Linked DNA regions of Homo sapiens: region 2 is linked to region 1. Evidence: promoter capture Hi-C in 16 types of primary human blood cells and fetal thymus (Javierre and others, 2016). All regions are on one chromosome and are shown on one strand. Each heading gives the region's core, a stretch centred on a gene start or on the middle of the fragment in contact. The rest is flanking DNA. Distances are from core to core; before and after follow the strand shown.

Region 1 (5,350 bases), core at 767-3,266:
AATTCGAGGCTGTATTGAGGGCGAGGCGCGCCCTCTTGTGTCCTAATGATGTCCTCTCCTCTCTCTGCACACTCGCCTCCCTTCTTCCTCTTAGGGCAGATGATGCTGAAGTGGACACGTCCTTACCTGACCCTGCAAAGCTGCCTCTCCAGCTTCAGATCCTGACACTCTCTCAAATGTTTCCGGCTCCCTTGGCACCCCACACTGTTGCACTGTCCCTCCCCATCTCAAACCCTCCTACTTCCACATATGGTCTCTTCCTCATGCAGTGTAGGACCTTTGGAGTCACATGCCTAGGGGGTGACAAATCGCAGCCCTGGTTCTTATTGGCTCTGTGATCTTGAGTAGGTCACTTCGTTTCTCTAAGTCTCATTCCCTCTTTGTAAAGTGGAGCAAACAATACCAATCTCATAGGGCTACTGTGAGACTTCAACACCAAGGAGTATTTACGGGTTGTTATTATGTTTACTGAGTAAAATCACATGAGTTATTACTACAAATAAGTTGGAACATGTTTCACAGAGAAGGAATTTAAACTGGGTCGTTAAAGCTAAGAATTCTCCTATTTTAACACTAGCCAACATGCATTGAGCTCTTACCAGATGCTAGGTATTGTCAATTTTCCCTAAGCCGCATAACCATTGGTAATAATAATAATAGCTAATGATTATGTATATTATTGTATTTTCTATTTTTTAAAATAGAGACGAGGTCTCACTTCGCTGCCCAGGCTGGTCTCAAACTCCTGGACTAAAGCGATCCTTCCGTCTCAGCCTCCCAGAGGGCTGGGATTACAGGCATGAGCCTCCGTGCCTGGACTAGCTAATGATTATTAAACACTTTCTGTGTGTCAGACATGTGTCACGCTCTTTACATACCTTCTCCCATTTATTCCTCTCAACAACTGTCTCAGGAAGAGGCAAGTATTATCATTCCCATTTTACAGCTGGGAAAATGCAGGCATAAAGAAGCTAAGTAATTTGCCCAAGGTTTCACAACGCGGGTGGTATGACCTGCATCCTTCATTTGAAAGTAAGAACTTTCAGACACAAGCAGCTTGACTTCAGAGACTTTTACCTAAATAGTCTCATTTAACCTTCATAACACCCTGTGATGTAAGTTCTCTTACATTACTTGCATTTTATAGATGAAAATTCCAAAGACAAAATAGATGGCAGTAATTTGTTCAAGGCCACACAGCTGCGAAGTAGTTGAGTTGGGATTTGGATCCATGTCTGACTACAAAGCCCCCATTCTCAACACCACATTAGATTGTTCATGCCCCAAAGTATTCACAGTGGTACAGAGCACCCGCATTTATATGAGGATTATTTTGTAATAATGATTAACATTCTTCCAACACCTAGGAAGTGCCAAGCTCTGTACTAACTGATTTACATAATAATAGCTAACAATCGCTGTGCATTATTAGGAGCCAGGCCCTGAGCTAATCGTTTTAGGTGTATTATCTCATTGAAAGTTCACAAAACTCTGTGACATGGATGCCATTACTACCCTCATTTTATGGTTGAAGAGAACGAGGTTCAGAATTCTTCCAAAGTCACACAGCTTAGCTGTAAGCTGGAAATTAAAGCTACAACTGTCCAGTTCTCTCCTGCCTATCGGGCTGGTCACCTCTAGTCATTCTCTCTTCTTATTTCTTATTGTGTCTGCTTTGATCTTTCAGGGTCTGAGGCTCTCACTTCGACCCCTCAGTAGAACTGGGCCCCCTTCTGCTCGAGTGCCCTCCCATTGGGCGGTGCTGTTATCCGGAAGCCTATGGAAAAGGCCAGGATCGCAACAGGTCCCGCCCCCATGTGTCGCGCCCGTTCCGATTTGTTCCAGTGCCAGGGTCCGTTAGAAGATGACATATCTATTGGCTGAAGACGTCTGAAAGGCAGCAAACGGAGGGGGCCGCCCCCGGCGCTCGCGCGGTTCCTTCTGGGAATTGTGGTCTCAGACGTTCCATTCCCAGGGTGGCGCCGCTCGGACTCCGCGTCCCAGCATTCCCCGCACGAGCCCGGGAGCACTTCCGCCCTGTTGTGAAGTGGGTGTCTCGGTGGGTGAGTCCGGGTGGCGGGGCGGGGGCAGCTGAGACGCAGGCTCTGGGCTGGAGACTTAGGAGGTGGTGGTGACACAGGGGGCTGGGGAAGGTGAGAGGGGAGAAAGAAGCTTATATGTGGGGGTGGAGGGTGAGGGACGGTCAAAGGATGTAGAGGCCGGAGATGGGAAGGGTCATACAGGGGTCGGGGATGAGGAGGCGATAGAGGGCCCTGGGAATGAGGAGGGCCTTAGAAGGGTCTGAAGGTGAGGGGGTTGAGGGAGGTTTTGGAGGTGGGAGAGTCATAGAAAGGTCTGGAGACCACAGAGGAAAGGATAGAGGGTCTGGGGCCCTGGCAAGAAGTGAAGAGGGCCTGAGCTTGAAGCCCGACCTTAAAAATAGTGTTTCAATCTCTACCTTCCCATCTAGAACAAGCATATCTAATTTGTTACCTCCCTAATGATTGTTACCTCTGGAACCCAGTGGATGGGACTGGCTATTGTGTTCTGCCCCAAACCTGCACTTCTTTCCTTATGTCTTATGGAAGTCAGTGGCACGATCATCCCATTTACCTACCTACCTACCTACTTACCCACTGATTCCTCTTGCATTCTTCCACGTCCAAGGATCTTCCGATCTTTAATTTCTTTAATATCTTTTCAGTCGGCCTCTTTCTTGTAGGGTTTTCGCAGAAGCCTTTTCAGTTTCCCAGCATGAACACACACATTGCACCTAGTGTGATCTGTTTCACCTACAAATCTGATTATGCCTTCTGCTTGAAAACTTTCATTGGCACCCAGCACCTGTAAAGTCCAAACACCTTGTCCTTCATAAACTCCTTTTGCAGCCTAATCTTCATGCACCTCACACTCCAGGGCTGTCAAGGTTTTCCTCGTTTCCTGGGTAGGCCATTTGGTTTTCCATCATTATATATGCTGTTCTCTCAGCTTAGAATATTCTCTCCTTGCCCTTCACCTTCTTTGCCAAGAGAACTTCTTTAACTTAAAAAAATTTCAACTCTTACTTTGCTCAATTCCCTTAAGCAAATTAAGTCACCCCCAACCCTCAGCTCCCATAACTTCTCCTATTACCACATTTGATCATAATTATCTGTGAAGTGTGTGTCTCTTCCATTAGACTGTGAACATCTCCAGGACAGGAACAGTGTCTCAATCACCTCTGTTTCCCCATTGCCCAGTCTAGAGCAGTAAACACTTGATGTAAAGCAGTAAATACTTGATGTATGTATGTGTGAATGAAGACCATGCAGGGTAAGCTTTGCTATACCAGCCTTGAAGACTTCTATTGCCAGTGGATTTCCAGGGCAGGAGCTTTAGTCTTCCTCTGCCTGGCAAGGCTATCTGCTGGAAGCTGAAGCTGATTCATTGCCAATGGGAGTTTAAGCCAGGGGTGACAAATACATGGAATGTGTGCTGCCAGTGCCCCTTCCTGTGTCCCTGGCAGTCATGGCTAATTGGTTGGTTCTCAGCACATATTCACACTGTACTCAGAGCCCTCAGCACACTACTCTAGGCAGCCACTTCCAGTTGATTGAAGTTTCTGCTTTAAATGAAACCTATTTGCTCTCCCTGGCTTAAGCCCTTATGTGTGAGGTCAGGTCAGACTGCTTTAAGCCATAGCTTGGACTGTCAGCCAAATGGGCCTGACAGCCTTTAAGAGTTCCCAGTTTTTTCTCTTTGGAGGTCACAGACCAGTCTTGGCCTTTCCTGTGGAACTGGAGAGCATCTTCTCTTCCCTTTTCACTGAGTGGGCTCCTCATGACCACGTTCATACTTACTGCCCTAGGAGTCAAGATGCCCCTCAGCTTCCCTGTGTTTGTAAAGACATCTTGATTTTGATGGCAGTCAGCACTTATCCCTCATGACCTGGGAGGCTCTGTACTCTTTCTAGGTCTTTCTGGATATTGGAAGAGAGCTTTGAGATCACTTAGCTGAATCTAAGTGGCAAAGCGACAGCCCATGCTGAATGAAGTCCACCATCATGCTTTATTTAATCTCATAGTGTGTGAAAAAATTTTGAGTTGGTTACCAACATTTAAAAATCCAGAGTGCTAGTTTCTTTTGGAAAAATCAGCAGGCTTAGGAATATTCTGGGCATATGTTCCCCTGGCACTCTATAGTTGGCTGTAGTGCCCACCCAGTTCATTTCAGTCATTGACTCATTTACATTGCTAGGTCCTTATACCCATTTAAACTTGTAGCCACTGACTCTAGTCTCCCTTCTCCCTTGCTCTACCCCATCATACTAATTGGGGAACCTAGGGCAACTGCTGAGTAAGATCAGGCTGTAAGCTGCAGCCTAGCTAGGCAGCCACAGGGGCTACATAACTTGTCCAAAGTAACACAGCTGATTAGTGGCAGGAGTGGAACTAGAACCCCAGTCTGCTCACTCCTGCCTTAATGTTCTTTCCATTCTCCCGTACTGTCATCTTAAGAGTTTGGATGACTAGCACACATAGAGGAGGCTATAAGACATGGTTAAGAAAAATGATTGGAGAAAAGGGATCTCGGCTTAGACCCTAACTCTACCACTTGCTAGTTGTGTAACCTTAAGTGAATCTTCATAAACACTCAGTTTCCCTTTAGGTAATTGAGGATATAGTGCAGTCATACCTTATCAGATAATAATATTCTAAGGGTGAAAATCACTTTAGCCAAAAATCACAGTTAGTTTGAAAATCCTTTGGCAAGGAGCCGTTTCAGAAACTAACACGCTGCCTTTCAATAAATAAACTAATCAGCACAGCTGGGCTTTCTTGTTTGAACATTAGATGAGAATTCGCTTGTATTAGGGACTGTGCGGTATGAAAGACACTTTACTCACACTTAGTGGAAAGAGAGGCACGAGGGAATCAAGACCAACCTGGTGAATAGCGAAGTCCTAGGTGCCACCACCACATGCTTATTCTCGAACAGATAGTGAACGCAACTGGCTGCACTATTTAAATCATGCTCTTTCTCTCTTTCTTTTTTTTTTCTTCTTTTTCTGAGACAGAGTCGTGCTCTGTTGCCCAGGCTGGAGTGCAGTGGCACGATCTCAGCTCACTGCAACCTCCGCCTCCTGGGTTTAAGCAATTCTCCTGCCTCAGCCTCCCGAGTAGCTGGGATTACAGGTACGAGCCACCACGCTTGGCTATTTTTTTTTTTTTTTTGTATTTTTAGTAGAGACAGGGTTTCACCATGTTGGCCAGGCTGGTCTCGAACTCCTGACCTTGTGATCTCCCTGCCTCGGCCTCCCAAAGTGCTGGGATTACAGGCGTGAGCCACCGCGCCCGGCCCTCTTTCTCTC
Region 2 (5,350 bases), core at 994-3,493, 600 kb before region 1:
CCTCACTGACTGATTCTCTTCTAGAGAATTTTCAGACATATGTCTGAATGGGGCCCCAATTTTCAGACATATGTCCAAATTGCTGTTCATCTCCCTTGCCCCAAGTTCCTATTTCCTTTCTATTTCTCCATCACCACCACTGCCACACTCCTACCCCCATCTGCCACTACTGTCTTGATGTGTCCTTCCCTCCTAAGGACAGTGGAGCATTACCTGCTGGGAGATGGCAAATCCGATGACAACCTCATCCTCCAGAACATCCCAGCTCACCACTGCAGAGTTGGCCTTGAGGTGCCTGACGGTGACGTTCACTGGGGCTGAGGGACTGTCTGGGGGACGGGGAGGCACCTAAGCCTGAGCATCCCCTATTGTGAGGCCCAGACCCACTGTCTCATAAGTAAGAAGGGGAAACCTGGGGAAGGCCATGCAGGAGGGGAAGGAAGAAACTAAGGCCTCAAGTGGGGTCCAGTGACATGGCTCTCAGCTCTTCAGTGGGTTGAAGAACCAAGCCCAAGAGGCCCCAGGCTCCTCATGACTGGGACGGAAGCCCCTGCTGGCCACAGGCCGGCCCCATGAGGGGTCCAAGGCTCAAAGTGATGGGCCTGGGCCGGGGCCCTATCTAAGGGATGGGTGGTTAGAGTTGTGGAGAGAGTTATGTAGGGGACATAGGTGGACAGAAACTGAAGGTTAGCTGATGAAAAGCAGACAAAAGGACTCCCCAGTCCAGTGCTCTTTTGACAATACTGCCCTGTCCAATGAGTGACCTTGCGCGAAGGAGAAAGACCCAGAGATCGAGAAGTGTCAGGCTGGGGTGAGCCCTGGACTGGGAGTGAGGAGAACAGAAGTATCCTCAGAGCTGTGGTGGCCCAGGCAGAATAAAGCCTGCGGAAGAGTCTGTGTGAGCCTCTTATCCATGCTCTTCCAGCCCCAAGATGCAGGTGGGGAGGTGGCAGGGGAAGATGGGGTCACTCAGAGCAGGGCCCCTCCATGGCGAGTGGAGAGGAGAGAACAGGTAGGGGAAGAGGATGAATGAGGAATCACTCCAGAAGAGACAGGAGGGAAGTGGGGGTGAGAGTGATAGGGATAGTGGGGGTCAGTGAGGAAAACCGTCCAGGAGAGGGGCAGTGCAGTCACATAAGGCTCAGTATCTTCCAAGGGGCAGGTGCAGCACGGGGCAGAGCTGCGCCTGAGCAGCACCCCTCACCCCACAGAGAGTGAACTTGAGACCCAGGGGGCTGGGCCTGGGACCTGAGGGAGACAGAGCCAGACATGGAGGGGGAGGTGGAGAGACAGGACACAGACAGGTGGTGGCAGACACAGAACCAGAGGACAGAGAAGTGGGGCATCTGAGAAAGACAGCTGCGAGAGAGCGCTCCCCGAGCCACGGAGGGAGAGATGAGCCGGGCAGCGGCAGCCAGGAGGGACAAAGACAGAGTGGCAGGAGAGGCTGGGCAAGGACGGGCCGGCCCCATGGGGCAGGCCAGACACTGTACCAGATCAGGGGTGCCGGGGCCCACCCCACGCCCTGCGCCCTCAGGTGCCAGCCCCCATCCCCTTCACACGTGCTCCTGCACAGCGGGACCCCATCTGCCCCTGCAGAGTTGGCTTGCAGGGCTTTGAGAGGTCCTGGGGACACAGAGAGAGGCCCAGGTGGGGGAACTGGTGTCCTCAGCTGCTCCCTGGGTCAAAGAAGGGAGCTAGGGAAGCTGAGGCAAAGACCTGGGGTTAGGGGAATGGGATTAGGGGACTGGGGACCACAAGACCCTAGGAAACCCAGGGCTGAGGTGACAGGGGAGATTTGGAAACTGAAGGACAGGTCTGGGGGTCAAGGAGGTAGGAAGACGCTGGGGGCTGGGTTAGGGGAGCAGTGTTTGGGCCGAGACAGGAGTCCCTAGGGGGCAGAGAAAGGACCAGGGGACTCCCAGGTAGCTGGGCTCGAGAGGAGCCTGCCCCGGCGCCGGCCCCCCGCCCCGGGCCCCCTTACCCGCCTGCACCAGCGCGAAGCAGACGCAGCCCAGCCACAGGCGGAGCGCGGCGCGGGCGCGGGGCGGCCAGGCGCTCGGCGACCCGGGGTGTATGGTGGCTCCTCCGGCCGGCAGGCCCGGGGCGGCGCAGGGGGACGCGGCTCCGGCGCCCGGCGGCCGCTCGCGCTCGCGCTCCGGCCCCCGGCCCGGCCGGCCCGGCCGCTCCGGCCGCCCTGCGCCGCCCCGAGCCGCCTGCATGTCGGCTCCGCGGACAGCGACTCCCGCGCGGCGGCGGTGGCGGCGGCCGCGTCCACGTCGGGCGCCCGGGGGGCGGGGCGCCCCCGCTGCGGGGAGAGGTGCGGGGGCGGGGTGAGGACCGGAGGGCGCCCCCACTCCCGCCCCCGCTGCCTATTAGGTCCTCTGCCGGGGAGGAAGGGGCTTCGCGGACCCACGGCTCCCGCCCTCTCACCGAGCGGGAGCCCAGCGGGGTTCTCCGCGCCCCCGCCGCGGTCACTCTCTCTCCCGTGCACAGCCCTGACTTGGCTGCCGCTTTCTGCCCTTTCCCAGGGTAGAGAGAGGACAAGTGCCACCGAGATGCCCGTTTGTGCCCCCACCCCTAAGCGCGCCTCCCTTCCCTGGGCCTAGGGATCCCCTCATTCCACGGTAGACCCGAGGCCTTGCGGCTGGGGCAGACGGGAGCAGAGGGGAGAGATCACAGTAAGGCTGGGGTGAGCAGAGAGTGCTAAGTGGACACTAGGGCTCCGTGTTTCCAGTGGGGTTGGGAAGAGGCTGCTCTGTCTCACTGGAGAGTCCAGCTCTGTGACCCCAGGCCAGTCCTTTTCCTTCATTTTCATCCCCATAGTGAGGGCAGTAATGAGCGTCTACCAGGGGCCAGATACTATGCTGAGCTTTCTTTGCATTATGTGGCTTAATTCTCAGGGCAACCCTGTAAAGTCATACTCTGCACACTTTGCACAGGAGGAGCCTGCAGCTTGGACAGGCTACTTGACTTGTCCAGGGACCCGCAGCAGAGCCAGGATTTGAACACAGGCTGATCTGACTCCCAAAGCTGTGCTTAACTGAACTGTCTCCCCACCCAGAGTGACTTCACCCATCCGGAGATTCGTGAGACTCTAGAATTGGCCGGGGCCAGCTCCTCCCCAGCCAGAAAACAGTCTGCAGCAATCTCTAAGAGCATCTCTGAGAAGGGGAGTGGCTCCAGCCCCCTTCCCTCATCTCAGCCAGAGAAACAAGGTGGAGGAGAGAGGCATGGACCAGGGCTCAGGGCCTTTTGTCTCAGCAAGAACCCCTGAGCCCCCTCCCACGACTATCCGAAATTCCACTACTAGCGGGGCATTCCTTTGGGTCTTAAAGGTTTTCCAGAAGCCCTGGAAGGGCTAATTTTCTTTGGAAAGGAGACGTCTTGCAAAGTTCTGCCACAGAAACGTCTTCAGGGTCTTCCTCTCCATCCCCCTGGTTTTACATTAAGGAAGTGAGGTCTACCGATGGGAAGAGCTTGGTGCAGATTCACACAGTGGGTCAAGAGGAGCGATAGACAACCCTCCTCTCCTTATGCCCACCCAGGACTCCTTCGCTGGCCCTGTGTTCCTCCTTGGTCACCTTGGAAGGGGTGAGATGGAAGCGAGCTTAGGGGCTCTTGTTGAGCAGCAGAATTTTCCTGCCCATCCCCTCAGTGCCCCCAGACCTGCCCCACTCGGCAGGGTGACACTGCCCAGCCCTATCATTTCCCCCGCCACATACCTTGTCCTGGGAGAGCCTCAGCTGGGACCTCGACCCGTTTGGGAGAAGAGCCCCGGAGCCAGAGCACCTCTCTCTCTCTTTTCTCTTTGCTCTCTTTCTCTTTCTCTCCCCTTATTATCTTCTCTCTCTTTCTCCCCGCAGCTGCTGCCTGCCCCACCCCACCCGGCCCCGCCCCACCAGCTGCAGCTTAGCCCCTAGGGACCCCCCACCCCCCATCCATCAGACAGGAAGACAACCAGGAGGCCCGCAGGAGCAACTGGAGCCTCTTCAGGCCTCCAGCACAGGAACCAGCAGGAAGGAGAGGGTTCAGTTAGAGGACACAGAATCTACTCCCGTCCCTGCAGGGGAGAAAAGGAGGGAGGGTCCTGGTGGGGTCTTGGCCTCCAGTCCAGCGCTGGGGAAAGGGGAACCTTGGCGCCATCTGCTGGCCTCTTTGGGTAAAACCTAGATAGATGTAGGGCATTGGGAGGGAGGAGATGGCAGTGCCTGAGGGCTTGAGAGAGAAGGCGGCTGAAGGAGGGGGCTTGGAGGATTTGGAGAGTTGTGACTGTGGGGGTACAGCCTTCTCAGTCCTCATGATGCATGGGGTGCTTGGGCCTTAATTCTGGGGAAAGCCCTGGTGCCTGGAATCTGGCAGCCAGTGAGAGCTGGCTGGGAGGATTTAGTGGAGCCCTGGGTGAACTTGGGAGGGAGCTGTCAGAAGCAGCCACTGCAGGCCAGGGCGCTGGCTCACGCCTGTAATCCCAGCACTGTGGGAGTCCGAGGTGGGTGGATCACCTGAGGTCAGGAGTTCGAGACCAGCCTGGCCAACATGGTGAAACCCCGTCTCTACTAAAAATACAAAATTAGCCGGGCATGGTGGTGTGTGCCTGTAATCCCAGCTACTCTGGAGGCTGAGGCATGAGAATCATTTGAACCTGGGATGCAGAGGTTTCAGTGAGCTGAGCACACCACTGCATTCCAGCCTGGGTGACAGAGAAAGACTCCATCTCAAAAAAACCCAGCCACTTTATGTACCCCATCCCTTAGCGCAAGGCTTACGATGCAGTTGGGGCTCATTAAATGATTGTTGACTGTATGGAAAAAAAATCATTCTTCCATCATATGTTTATTGAGCACCTATTATGGACCAGGCCCTGTGTAATATTCTGGAAACACAGCAGTGAAAGAATGAGTGAAACCATGAGGACCTGGGTAGGGACTAAGGGTGCGCCTCTGTCCTCCCAAGCTGCACTCACTGGGCTTCATTTGGAGGACTCCACAGAGACCCCCTTGAGGGCTGGCCGGTCACTTACACATTGACACCTAATGGGGTCACCAGCATTTGGACCCTCCTGCGTGTCCAGAGTCTCAGCACCTAACTCAGGCTGCAGGTGCCCAAGCCAGCCCCGGGTACCCATTTAGAATAGGAAGTTTCCTTTTTATAGCCTAGGATGGTCATGGCCCCAGTCAAGGATGGTCACTAGACACCCCTCACCCGCCCTGCAAATCACAGGAAGAATCAGGAGGTCAGGAGTTGCTTTGGGGATATAATAATTGAGCACCTACTTTATCCATGTTATTGTTTTATTTTATTTTGAGACGGAGTTTCATTCTTTTGCCCAGGCTGGAGTGCAGTGGCGTGA

What was found. Contacts are between HindIII fragments. The CHiCAGO score rates a contact against its expected background, and 5 or more counts as called.
Region 2: the fragment with the promoter of FNDC5 here is called in contact with the fragment with the promoter of ZSCAN20 in region 1 in 3 of 17 cell types (fetal thymus, total CD8 T cells and total CD4 T cells); the score reaches 6.2 in fetal thymus.

What each region holds. Positions count from the first base shown.
Region 1 is chr1:33,470,629-33,475,978 of GRCh38, forward strand. ZSCAN20 (zinc finger and SCAN domain containing 20) reads left to right here and starts at 2,017. Exons shown (of 8, transcript NM_001377376.1): 1 at 2,017-2,063. RefSeq lists a silencer at 1-274. The HindIII fragment of the contact is 14,362 bases long and covers 1-2,170 here.
Region 2 is chr1:32,868,669-32,874,018 of GRCh38, forward strand. It overlaps FNDC5 (fibronectin type III domain containing 5), which reads right to left and starts at 2,244. Exons shown (of 6, transcript NM_001441683.1): 1 at 1,985-2,244; 2 at 214-329. The coding sequence starts at 2,222. RefSeq lists an enhancer at 4,012-4,868. The HindIII fragment of the contact is 9,260 bases long and covers 1-5,350 here.